Regions from separate parts of the Homo sapiens genome. Here all the other regions are linked to region 3. Evidence: promoter capture Hi-C in 16 types of primary human blood cells and fetal thymus (Javierre and others, 2016). All regions are on one chromosome and are shown on one strand. Each heading gives the region's core, a stretch centred on a gene start or on the middle of the fragment in contact. The rest is flanking DNA. Distances are from core to core; before and after follow the strand shown. Region 1 overlaps CCDC141 (coiled-coil domain containing 141). Region 2 overlaps SESTD1 (SEC14 and spectrin domain containing 1). Region 3 holds the start of CCDC141 (coiled-coil domain containing 141).

What was found. The method cuts DNA at HindIII sites, captures the fragments that hold promoters and counts their contacts. A CHiCAGO score of 5 or more calls a contact.
Region 1: a contact is called between a fragment that was not itself captured here and the fragment with the promoter of CCDC141 in region 3, in 3 of 17 cell types (non-activated CD4 T cells, naive CD4 T cells and total CD4 T cells). The highest score is 5.9, in non-activated CD4 T cells.
Region 2: a contact is called between a fragment that was not itself captured here and the fragment with the promoter of CCDC141 in region 3, in 1 of 17 cell types (non-activated CD4 T cells). The highest score is 5.0, in non-activated CD4 T cells.

The regions. Positions count from the first base shown.
Region 1 is chr2:178,972,671-178,976,967 of GRCh38, forward strand. It overlaps CCDC141 (coiled-coil domain containing 141), which reads right to left. Exons shown (of 24, transcript NM_173648.4): 4 at 2,387-2,495. Among named protein-coding and RNA genes, the nearest start is that of CCDC141, 75 kb to the right of the region's middle. The HindIII fragment of the contact is 1,378 bases long and covers 2,249-3,626 here.
Region 2 is chr2:179,128,584-179,133,480 of GRCh38, forward strand. It overlaps SESTD1 (SEC14 and spectrin domain containing 1), which reads right to left. Exons shown (of 18, transcript NM_178123.5): 10 at 3,721-3,843. Among named protein-coding and RNA genes, the nearest start is that of CCDC141, 81 kb to the left of the region's middle. The HindIII fragment of the contact is 637 bases long and covers 1,158-1,794 here.
Region 3 is chr2:179,047,887-179,052,178 of GRCh38, forward strand. It overlaps CCDC141 (coiled-coil domain containing 141), which reads right to left and starts at 2,251. Exons shown (of 24, transcript NM_173648.4): 1 at 1,954-2,251. The coding sequence starts at 2,055. RefSeq lists enhancers at 1,748-1,797, 1,988-2,237, 2,248-2,327. The HindIII fragment of the contact is 6,980 bases long and covers 1,364-4,292 here.

The DNA of each region.
Region 1 (4,297 bases), core at 1,688-4,187, 75 kb before region 3:
TATTTGCTGGAAAAGACTTTAACTAACTAGGTAATTTTAACCCCAAGGAGAGAAGTCAGGAGAAGGTATATTATTCCCTCTCTTTCAAGGATTGTTATGTGGTGGAGGGAACCAACTTGTTCTGAAACATTCCAGGGGGCAGAAATATCAACCCATTAATCCTGGTTCTAACTTCCGTAGTGTTAAAGAATAAGTTTCTTACATATTAGGGAGCCTTAGCACTGCTGAATAAGGAGAAAGCATAGGTGAAGCTAATTGAAATAAAGTGACTATTAGGGGTAAGTTTGATTATAGTTTTTCCAGCTTTTGTCATCCTAACACTCATGTTTTGTACTACTCAACTGATTAACATCTCAGAAACTTACTAGAATGGCTAGCTGCACTTATAGACATATTTTATTTCCTTAAATTTAAAGGTAATAGATATGAAGCACTCAACTAAAAAATCAGAATTTCACCCTTTAATATGCATTTCAAATCAGCTAATCTTAATCATATCCCATGGAATTAGTTGGTTAATAAATTGCATCAACTTCATTTTTTTGTTTTATGAAAACAAAAACCCTTGAAGCCACCACTGGGCATATGAACTGGGAACAAGTATCCTGACCAGAGTTCTCTGTCATCTCTGTGCTTCAAGTATCACACAGAAGGGCACAAACTCTCACAATAAATATGTCATCAAGATGGAAGAATATTTTTTCATCATAAAAATAAACTATGTTTCCTGTCTTCCACTAGCATTTTTATCCATCTCTTCAGACTAAGGACACCCAGTGGACTCTTGAAGGCTGGTACCCCTGAAAAGCAAGACATCAGTTTCACTGTCAGCTGGATGCCAAAGAAGTGCAAACAAAGCAGCATGTGCCCCATATAAACTGGCCCACAGTGCCGCAGATCCTAGGAACTTGAAGGAGCCAACAGCAGTAGCAACAACAAAACAGCATTAAGACTACATTCCCCCTGCCAGCTCCATTCCCAAACATGTATGGAAAAGCCCCTACTTCTACAAGCCCCCAGTCCCTCTGGAGAATGCTTTCATTTGATTGCCTCAGTATTGAAACTCTTCAATAATAGCATCCATCATTGTCAGGTTTCTGGAGGTAAAACTGCTGTGTGATGATCATGTTGGTTGAAAGAAGATTGAATTGAGACTACAGAACCCATCTGTTGCCTTCCAGTCTCCTAGGAGGAATTTCACGTGATTCTACTCATTTCCTTTGGACCTAGCTAGATTACTACTGCTGTATAATAATGGGCAACTGTTGCTTTAAAGCACAAACTTTTGATGCTTTTTATAATCCCTATTAGTGATAGGTCCTATAGAACAATAATCAGTGGAAATTATATATATGTATTTGGTAGGATCTCATAAGAATTTACATAGGAAAGATTGAGTCCTTTAATCTTACATAGGAAAGATTGAGTCCTTTAATCTTTGAGTTTTAGAAAGTTGTAATAAGTAATTTATCATAATGATCTATTGTCTAGAGTCTTTTGAAGGGTAATATAAACACTAAATCTATTTGTGACTTTAAAACACCTTTTGGTCCTATCCAGAATGACAGGCTGGTGGAGCTAGAAGTCAAGTTAGAACTGTGACAAATGAATTCAAGAAACCTTTCTATCCAGACCCTATTCTATTTGGCAGTAAAATTAGAAGACATATTAGGCAGAAAAGAAACGGTTGTTTCTATCAATTTATCTAACCTCCTTCCATTGCAAAAGATGACAGGTAACTACTACTTTTCCACAAATGCGTTTCCCTACTCCACTCCTGGCCCACACCAAATTCTTGTAGAAAGGCTTGGCATACAAATTGTTGGTTAACAACTAGACTATCTTTCTAGTTGTTCAGAGGGAACTGAAAATCTTTTTGTAGAGTGTTTTATTAGATTTTCATCTGGAAAAATTCACTGTTCCATTTTTTTAACTGCAATGGTGAAAGAGGAATTTTGCTGATTCAGACCTGCTTTTTAAAGAATTACCTTCATTTATTGACCCTTAGAAGGAACATTCACTGAATTCAATGATTTATTCAACTAAGAAAATTTCTTTAGGATCTACCATGTGGCAGGAACCTTGCTAGATGCTAAGGGTAAAGGGATGAACAAGGTAGAAATGGCCTCTGTCCTCAGGAGCTAAACTCTAGCACACCAAATAACAGAATCTCCTGGAGGCATATCCTCTACCATCCTCTCAGAATATTCACAACTAGTTCTTTCTTTCAGAAGATGATTAAAAATGAAGCTTTAACTTTTCTTGGAACAAGCTGAGGTAAACATAAATAGATCAATTTAAAATACACTATCATACATAAGCATTCTCACATTAACATCTTTTAAAACCTCTAAACACTTCTGTGAGAAATAAACATATTTCTTGCCTTTAGTATGATGTTCATGAAGCTGAAGAAGTGATTTTAAGGACTCAGCACTCTCAAACTCATGAGTATTCTGGAGGAAATCTTCAGCTTGGTCTATTTTAATAGCAAACTACAATAGAAATACAGAGGAAAGACATTTGACATTTGTATAAAAATTAACGTGCCATTGTTAGTTACCTGGAGATGTTTTTCATAAATTAGTAGCCCAACTGAGGATGTGTGATTATGCAAGTGCATATGTTTGTATGTGTTTGTGTGTGTTTTGGCTTACAGTGTTTGCATGAGGGTGTGTGTTTGCATGTGGTCAATTTACAAAGTGTCATTGGTAAGAACTTTCTTCTCCTTTCATACCTAATTATATAGGCTGAAATAAACCAACCTGTTTACTGTCCAAATGCCTATTAAATTTTTCAACCAAAATTATAGTGTCCTATGTATACAGTCACTTTCAACATTCTAAGGCACTTAGTTAAGAATAAGCAGAAAGTTAGCTAAGGGAAACCAAGAAAAGGTTAACTAAAAAGCAGTCTATACATTTACAAGTAAATGTAGCTTAGGAACTCACTTAGAGAGAAGGTAGAAGTATAGTTATTTTTTCCCTCTAAAATTGAACTTAGCAGTGAAATATGCAAGTTTCTGAATAATACATAGTCTAATCCAATATTTTATACAAAGCAAAAAAATATATATTTGTATAGAAATTGGTCTCAAAAAATACACACCAAATGGTGACTTAATGAGAAGAAATGAAATTAAGGATGAGTGAGAGGAGGTAAAATTTTAATATTTAAATCTATAATTTGTAATTCTGTTTGCATTTTTATCAATAATTTGTATGCATTACATCTATAAATAAAATGAGATTAGATGGAGCAAGAATGACAAGTGAGAAATTTATTCCCTGTTTCAAGGAAAATGCATAGTAATTTCACACTCTAAATGGTGAGGAATATAACTGGTCTGTCTTTTTTCTTTTTCTCCATAGAGGCAGTGGGAGATTGAGAGAGATGATTAACGTGATGTTAAAATGCTCAGGAAAATAATCTTAGAAACAAATTTTAGAATGGCAAAATATATTTGATTATCCTGTCACAGTATGTCTATAGTGGTAGACAAATAGTTGGCTTGTTTTAGCACTAAGATTCAACAGTAATTATCACAATTTATATGAGCATTTTAATATATCCACCTTTGGATTGGGTTTAGAATAAACTAATTAAGGAAAAGTATCAGACATAGAAGCTTACCACGGTACTTATCTTCTGTTTCAAGTCTTCTCCAAACTATCATTTTTGAATTTGGGGATTCTTAATATTTTAATGTAACTATTTGATTAACACAATCGACTGTAGTTTATTACAACAGCCATATGAAATCCAATTATAAGTGAAACAGAATGATGAGAGAGAGACTGAAGAGCATGGGACATGTTTTGGAAATGCAAGGAAGGCCTCTGTCATCCTATTAGAACAACCTGATGGACATCTGCTGCTGCCAATCAGGGGCAGTGTTCCTAAATTATAGCACAGTGTTCGAGGTGAGAATAACCCAACTGACAGTTATGTCTGTGAGCCTGAAATAATCTTGTAATAATGATCAGCCATGCAATTATTAGTAATTTTTCATTTCTCAAAAACTCCTACATGCACATAATTCAATAAGGGGGTCATATCCACATCATTTACATCTCTAATTCAATTTCTAATAACTGATTTTTAAAATATTATTTAAAGAGAATCTTCAAAAAGAAAAGAAAATTCCTAGCAGGTAGTTTGTTTGTTACCTGCAGAACATTAGAAAAAGTTCCAGGGTCACTGTTTAACTTATATTTATATTTCAGCTTGTTATAAAATTAAAAATAAATAAACCAATAAGCAAACAATGCTTTACTCAGAAAAAGTTTTCCTAAAG
Region 2 (4,897 bases), core at 226-2,725, 80 kb after region 3:
CTGGGTGTGGTGGCGCATGCCTGTAATCCCAGCTACTCTGGAGGCTGAGGCAGGAGAATCGCTTGAACCTGGGAGGCAGAGGTTGCAGTGAGCTGAGATAGCACCACTGCACTCCAGGCTGGCGAGAGAGCTAGACACTGTCTCAAAAAAAAAAAAAAGAAAAGAAAAAAAAAAAAACCCAGTAGAATGTAGACTGCCTAGAACCTTAGGTGTATTTTGTTCACTTACAGCCATTCTCCGGTCTGTCTCTTATGTATATTTAACTGTGTAGAAAATGATTATTTTATAGCAAAATAAAAAAACACCAATATATGGGATTTGGATTGAGATGGTAAGAAAAGGGCTTGAAGGTTCACATTTAGGACACAAGCAGTCAGGATTGACAATGCAATCATGTTGGCAGTGACGCATACTTGGTGAAATGATGGATATTTATACTTTATACCATGAAATGTGAATCCATATGTAGGCAGAAGGAAACAGTGCCAACTCGGGTTAAAAAGGTGATTATACTCAGACTACACATTAGGAGAAATGAGTCTTGATTCGCCAGGTAGACCTGTTCTGCATAATGCACCAGAGAAAGTGGTTTCTTTGTAGACCAGAACTCAGCACTATGAGATGGTGGGATAGTGACAAAATTCTGAAGTAGTTTCAGATATTTATGCTCCTCGATGTTCCTATCACACACGCTTTTCCTACCACACACTTTCTTCAACCCAAAACATAAAATTAGATTTTTGAACTAAACTGCTTTTAAATTTATTGTCAGTTACTATAACCATTTTCATGTACCTTATTTTTTTTGTTGTGTTCTATTAAAAAACCAAGTTAACTTCTAATTACCAATCCTTGAACTAGAACTACAGGTTGGCAGAAATTTCATTTTTCTATGTATTAAAACTTAATATCCTAACAAATTTGGGGTTTTTAGCTTTATTTCTGCATTATGCTTTTATATGGACTCTAAAATTTAATATATGACATAAAATTTAATATATGACATTGAGCTGGTAATGCAAGATTGTATGTTAAAAGTTTTCTCAAATTCTACCGTTAACAGCTGTCAATGCCAGAAATTAGTCATACTTTCACAAGACTTGAACAATTCCAATAATGCTTTAATCTGTTAACTCTTAGTTACAGAGAGAAAAGAAAGCTTTTAATAAAATATTAGAATATCTTAAACATCATAAGCTAAAATATTCATCCAGCATCAACCAACCTATTCTCAGGGTGACAATGCAGTGCCACCTATTGGCTAAAACAGCACAACTGGCTTTTTAAAAATATGTCAAAAGTGGGAAGAATAGTGTAATGAACTCCTTCCTATCCAGCTTCAATAATGATCAATTCATGGGTAATTCTGTTTCACATACACTCCCATCCATTCAATCTGTTCCTACCTCCCAATTCTGAAACAAAACCCAAATATCACACATGATTTAAGGAAATAAAATCTCTTGATAGCCATCAATGTTTCTTTAGGTCATGTCTATAAATGCAGATGTCAATGTATATGTACATTCCTAAGTATTAAAAGTACAAGAATGAAAAACTACTGTAGCTTAACCATATCTGTAAAATTTAGTAGCTTTCTCTAAGAGACAGCTAGAGAAAGGATCCCCCCTGGGTATCAAGAGATCTGTGTCTTAACAATAGTCCAACTATTCACTGATCAAAAAACGTAGCTTCCCAGTTTTTTCATCTATAAAGTAAGATGAAGATATTAGAATAATCTATAAGGTATTTTGCAATTCAAAAGTTTTATATATTGGTTCCACATTATAAGTAAGCTTAAGCACATGGGAAGGGCCACCCTTAAGCGATGTTTCTTTAAGCTGATTTTGAAAACCTTATAAATATATTAAAAATACAAAACCAACATCTGAACATAGCAATTTCTATGTACATCATCTGCAATTTCATCCATACTATACGCAATATGAAATTTGCTTTTGAAGTCTTTTTGTAAACTTAGAGTACAGTACAGTATGTATACAATCCAATTTCTAACTGTAATTATTTATCTTGGCATTTAAAAAAAATAATAAAATATAGATAAATCCTGTCTTTAGAATCCTCATGTGCCATGTGTCCTTCCTAAAAAGAACTTTTGGAATACTTTCATAACTAAATCCCCTTAGGTGAAGTCTAGAATGTTCTAGAGTAAATACAGTTTTTTAGGAACTAAAGAGAGGAACAAATTGTAGACTCTAACTATAGTAACATGTTCTAGAACAGTCTACCAGGTTCAAACAAATCACAATCCATGTTAAAAAAAAAATCAAAACATTATTTTAAAAGTACCAAGAGAATTAAAAGATTATATCCTCAGGAACAGGGTTTGTAATATGATTATTTTAGTATAAAAGGAAGAACCATTATGTTGGAACCTGTGAAATGCATAAAATAAATCGATTTTCAATTATGAGATTTCATTTTCAAGTTTTTTACAAGTACTAATTAGAAAAATTGCAAGGAATATATATGTAGTGCCTTTAGACAATTCCAAATCTTGTAATATCTCTTATTATTCCTTCAGCTAGATTACAACTGCTTTAGGGTATAGTAGTAGATTTTCTGCCAATACCAGTAATTGCTATACCTGATTTACAGAACATTACAAAGAAAGCAATATGAGGAAACTAAGCAAAATGGAATACATTTAGAAGAAAAATAAGAATCAGATATTGTTAAATTCTAGTAAAGATGAGATTTACTCATTCATTCAAATTTATTCCCAAGCAAACCATATTACTTATTCTTTAATCTTGTTTAGTTAAAAATGGACATTTCCTAATACTATCCAACATAATTAGAGGAAAGAAGAAACGTTGCAGAAATTAATGTTCCGACGGTACTTAATGCTCATCTGGGTCCAGAGTTTAACATTTTGACCACCTTTTTTAAGACAACCTAAGGAGAAGGGAATTAATGGATTCAAATTTTATTTTTCCAATTTTGTATTTAATCTATTTTAAATTACCAAAGTAATATGACCTTAGGGAGAGGGGGGTGAGCTACCCCGTCCACAAACTGGATGATCTCTTTCTCAGTAATGAAGAATTAACTGTAACAGAGCAGGAGATTAACGAACACCAGCTTCTTTCACATAACAAGTTGTTAAATTTTAAATTATCTTTAACAATTATTATCTATAATCTGCTTAAGAATCTATTTATTTCCCAATTTTATACCTGTGATTTGTCTGATTACCCCTTTCACAAATACAAAAGGGACCCCTAAATGCTCAGAGAATGGAAAAATATTCTGCACCCTCTGGACTTACTCTCCATCAGTTGTGTTTAATGCAGCAATTCTGCTATCACTCTCAGGCATTTAATTGTACTATATACTCCCAATAAAGTGGGGGTGAGGGGGACTTGAAAACAGAAGTTTCTGTCACAGAGACTACAGATGAAAGCTCTATTTTTGTATTATCACTCTTTTTTCTGTCACTGTAGCTTTTAAAATTTCATGCAAATTGTGCTTCTATAAAAATATAATTAAACTGCATTAGAGACAAAACCAAAAACAACCTTCTAATTAACATGTACTAAGTAATCAAAATGTACTTTATGACCTCTAGGCACTTAACAAACTGTACTTCATGCCCCATACCAAAGTTTGCAGCAACTTATCACTCAGTACCACATATGCTACTAATTACCCACGTTCATAATATCATTGTAACTTGCAGAGGAAAAAGCCTCTCACACTGTGCTGGCTCTCAATCTCTTCGTGTTTCTGCTGTAGGGCCTGGGAGGCCCTAATGGAGTCTCCAATGCCCCACTGGGCTCTTAGTTGTTCTGATCCAGGCCCTTCTAGCCAGTTCACCACCTATAAACAAAAGTTGAGATAACATTTTTTAAAGAATCAGAAACTTTTCAAACTTTCATTCTAACTTATTTTTCCCCTCCCAAAGTTCCCCAATTATTTTTAATGTAAATTATTTACATTCTATCACATAGGCAGTAAATGTTTCTTTTGGAACTACACAGCTATAATGTGACAACATTTTCAAAACTTAAATGTGGAAGAATGTACACTGTAGCATCACAAGCTTTCAGCTATCTGATTATCTTTCAGGCTAAAAGAAATCTGGAATGCTTCTATAAAAGAGGATTAAAAATTAACTTACGAAAAGAGAATCAGAGAATCATAAGATTTAGAGTTGGAAGAAACATCAGAAATGATATCAGTCAAAGTTCTTAACTAACATTTAAGAAAACTGAGTTTCAAACAGATTAAGTGACTTGCCCAAGATAACATAATCCATTATTGAAAAACTGGACTAACAGCCATATGTTCTAACTCATAGTCTAATGTTCTTCCCAAGCATTGAAAAAACTGACTGAATTAACTACTATAAAGTTAATATACCACTTTATCACTTCAAAAATAAAATTAAAAACTAATTAGAATTATGCTAATGTAATAAATACCCTCTTGGACTCTTCTTAGGATCAACCAACATTCAGACCCACAAAAGGCCCCACTGGCACCAGTCTGCTAGTAAGGATATAGGGTGGGAACTATAGTTTGCCAGGATGACAGCATCAGGAGTTCTTCAGCTGAGTCCCTCAAGCAGGTATAAGGAGATGAGATCAGTATGGGGCAGATATGGGAGACACTCTGGCATCAAAACATGATACCCCACAGGACTATGCCCATTATGAGTCACTAAACTCAAGGATCCCCACCCCAAGTTATGCCTTCCATCATATATTAATAATTCTCCCAGTCCAGATCTGGAATAATGTTTACTATAAGCAATATTGCCTAGTAACGTAGTTGACATTCCAATTTTTAATCAGGTCTTCAGGGGAACAGAGCTAAAGGGTTAAGCAAAGATCAAGTTCTCATGCAGAAGGAGAGGATTGTGCTGACACTC
Region 3 (4,292 bases), core at 1,001-3,500:
TTTAGCTGAAAATAATAAATATCAGATGAAGAAATTGATTTTTATCTTATTTCAAAGGTAAAATATGCTGTTTTCCAACCTTAGTTGTTGAATATTCATTAAAGCGTGTAGGAAAATATTAACAAAATTAGATGCCTGTGACAACTGCCATTTGAGCACAGTCAACTTGCTTTCCACACAAGATTTACACTGCTCTAAGATATAATTTGTCATTGCATTTCCTGAGGAATTGCTTTTCTAAGAAGCAACAACTCATTAAGCAAAATGAACCACTAACACGCATACGCATGTAGATACCTGAATTACTAAAGAGAAATTAGAAAAATGTATTTCTATTTTAGAATATATTCAGTCCCCTGAGACAGTTTGGACAGTCACTATAAATCACACACAGGCACTTCCATTCCATTAAGGTGGACTTTATACTCTGAATTGCTTGGGGTGTATTTTGTATGGAGATGGCAGTAAGGTAAGAGGGCTGAGGAGAGGGTAGTGGGGGAACATTCTTAGAAACACAATTCAGTTAAAATAAGAGTTTCCAGTGTAATTTTCCAGTGTAATTTCCAGTGTAATTTTTTTGTGTTCAATCTACCTCTGATTCTTCTGTAATTTATCCTCTAATATTATTCCTCATCCTGCTCCAAGAATGTTCATATTTGAGGAAATGGAAAGTTAACTTTTTGAAAAATAGTGAGTTTGCCTCTTTTCCCTCATTGCTGAAATCTGCAGTTAACTCAAAGTATCATTAATCCCGTGCAAATGATCTGTTTGCCCTACTTCTGCATCAGGCTTCTTTTCATCTCCTCTCTGGGACTCTGAAAAGATGGGAGGGTGAGGAAGTCAGCAGAGGCCTGGTTCCTGTGGGAGAGAAGTCTCACAACACCAGAAAATCCACCTCGGCAGGAATACTTTCCATTCTGTCCTTCTATAGTGAACTGTTTTGCTCAGTATCAAGTGCTCTTTTCCTGGTATGAATTTTCACATTACCATAAAATTCACAGCAATTAAGTTAAAGTAAACATGGCTTGCTGTCCATGCTCTAACAAAAGGCCAGAAAAGTCATTCAATTAAACCTGGTGGGGACCTGAAAGTAACTGGTTTGTGACCATCAGCTTGTTTGCCAGCTTTCCCTTCATTAAACACTGAATTATTTAGGTGGAATATCATCTAAAGCCCAAGCCTAGTGCTTGAAAGCTTTTTTTTACAGGGCATTTCCATGGAGAATAAAATCATGGAGTTCTTCTTCAGCCTAAAGATGTGTGGTCATCTTTGCAAATGGGCAAATGGGTTGTCATAAAACATGCAGTAATTGTAAACCCTAAGTGGCTTCTACTTCCTGCTGTTAAGAGCAAATTTGACACAAAGCTTTTGTACCTTTCCTTGCATGGTCTTCGTTACTGGACAAGGATTTAGTAGTTTCTTTACCATGTCAAAACCAGTGTGGCAAAGGGCACATGTCGGAGCCCTTTACTTGGTGTTTTCTGAGTTCCATCGTGCTTAAAGCAGTGCCCTCCCCCTGTCTGTCGGGACCTGCCTCCTCCCACCTCCATCACATCCACTCTCAAAAATCACAAGCATTCCACAGGTCCATTGGACTCTTTAGTCAGGCAATCATGAACTTCCAGTTACCAATGCCTTGCTTTTAAAGACCAAATTGACAGTATATGCTAGAGGTTTTCTTTTCTTTATTTTTCTTTCTTTTCTTTTTTTTTTTTTTTTTAAATCAAGCTGCTATAGATGCTTTCTGGCTGACTGAAAGGAAAGAGAATCTCTGGTAACTGCTGAAACTTGTAGAGGTTTCTCTTAGTAGCCCATTTTAGAAAGCAGTAAGAGTGCTTGCTGCGTTGTCTTCTCTATGCTGTGTCCTGCCGATTGCATGGAATGTTCTTTAGGGTTTTCAACACACAGCTAGAAGCCCACAGCCGCACAGAAAAAAGGAAGTTGTTAGCTTACCTTTATGACAGCTATAACGATTTTGGAGTCCCCAGCCTGCACAGCAACTGAACTGACTGTCGTCGTAGAAAGCGCAACACTAGGACTTCCTTGGCTGGACATGGTACTTTAGAACCAGAGTTTATACTTTGGGCAGCCTCTGGACAGTTGTGTGTCTGCTGGTCATTTCAGAAGGCCAGGGTTACTTGGATTCATTCAGGGAAAGAGCTCAGCTCACACTGATTACTCTGCCAAAAGGAAAGAACAGGAGGTTAAAAATAGACAACCCCATTGAGTTTATCGTGAGAGAGAAAGGAGCGAACGAGAGAGAATTGCCACGCCCCTAGTATGGTGACACTAAGTGCCTGTTATTTTTGCTGTTATCTTAAATGTGGAGGACAGCTTCAAGCTCTTTCCTTATCAGCTGATGTTTGATAACAAATGGAAAAAAAAATTACATCCTGACAACCCAAATTAGTTTTGCCACCGAAACTATGCCATTGTAACCATGGACTTTGAAACAAGTAAGTCTTTGACCTGGTTATCAATCTTTTCAAGATTTTTGAAATCTCTCTGATGCAAAGAGAACTACCAAAGTGTACTTTAAAAAAGTTTTGGTATTTGTCTTGGGGTTAAGTCACAAATTGCTTAAAACACATTTTTAGATTAATCTGCTTTTCTAAAACTTACTGTTCTTTGCTAAATGAAGTTTAGATGGAATAGCCACATTTTCTCAGAGCCTCAGATTTCTTAGGAATTTTTAAAAAATATTTCAACCAGCATTTATAAATAGGTGCCTATCATTTCAGATTTTCTTTGTGACTATTCTGCTCCATTGGACAAGGTTTTCAAGTTCAGTTATTAATACCATGAGAAAGCAAAATACTTTGCTGTTACCTTTTAATTGCAGCAAGAAAATGTTTTCTGTGTGGTTAAAAGTTATTAAGACATATATTTTGCTGCAATTAAAAACAAAAACAAAAAGGAAAGTACTGTGCTTCAGGCTTTTTATTCCCTACCCCCACCTCCTGTTCAGGAAAATTATAGCCAGCTTCAAATCAGTGCCCCACATTGGTAGATTAATCCTATTGCTAGAAACTCAGCCTGTGTCACAAGTTGTCTGTGGTATTAAACAGCAGCTGTTGGATTCCCTGTCAAAGAACAGCTGAAAATAACACTAAAGTTTAGGTCAGAAGTCAGATGCAAACATATCAGAGTTACTAACTCCAAAGCTGCTGGAAGCATTGGAAATCTCTGGGACAAAGCCACAACAGAGAATATAGCAAAAAACAGTTTTAATGAATCCACTTGCTCTGTAAACCTTTTAGCCCAATTTAATAGTAGGTTCAGGTTCAGGGCCAATGTTTAGAAGACTGAGTCAGCTCCATTGCTTTGTTTTGCTAAGGTTCATGATCATATTCTTGATTCAAAGGGGAAAAGTACTTTTACACATACTTCAGTGTTCAATTATTTTTGTTTCCAAGAGCATGTCATGGCTGCTCTGCAGCTGTGTAGCCACCACCCATGTCCTCTGCGCTCAGCATCTGCCTGCTGCCCCAGTGAGATGGAAACCATACCTAGATCCTAGTCCCTATGCAACACGAACTTCACCTGACCCCATGAAGGGAACAATTGGAGCGAGCTCAGGAAAGCAGATGCCGAGCAAGCTATGATGTAGCAACTATTGCAAATGGTTTCATTTTATGGCAGGGCTGGAGAGCTTGCAAAGAGGTAACTGACCTGGAAGGTTGCAGGCAGGCTCCTTCTTTCACTTGCATCTGTGTGAAGAGACCACCAAACAGGCTTTGTGTGAGCAATAAAGCTGTTTATTTCACCTGGGTGCAGGTGGGCTGAGTCTGAGAAGAGAGTCAGCGAAAGGAGATAGGGGTGGGGCCGTTTTATGGGATTTGGGTAAGTAAAGGAAAAAGGGGGGTTGTTCTCTGGCAGGCAGGAGTGGGGGGGTCACAAGGTGCTCAGTAGGGGAGCTTTTGAGCCAGGATGAGCCAGGAGAAGGAATTTCACAAGATAATGCCATCAGTTAAGGCAGGAACAGGCTATTTTCATTTCTTTTGTGGTGGAATGTCATCAGTTAAGGCAGGAACTGGCCATCTGGATGTGTACACAGGTCACAGGGGATATGATGGCTTAGCTTGGGCTCAGAGGCCTGACATTCCTTTCTTATATTAATAAGAAAAATAAAACGAAATAGTGGTAAAGTGTTGGGACGGTGAAAATTTTGGGGGATGGTATGGAGAGATGATGGGGGATGTTTCTCAGGGCTGCTTCGAGCGGGATTAGGGGCGTCATGAGAACTTAGAGTGGGAGGGATTAAGCTGAAGGAAGACTTTGTGGTAAGGGGT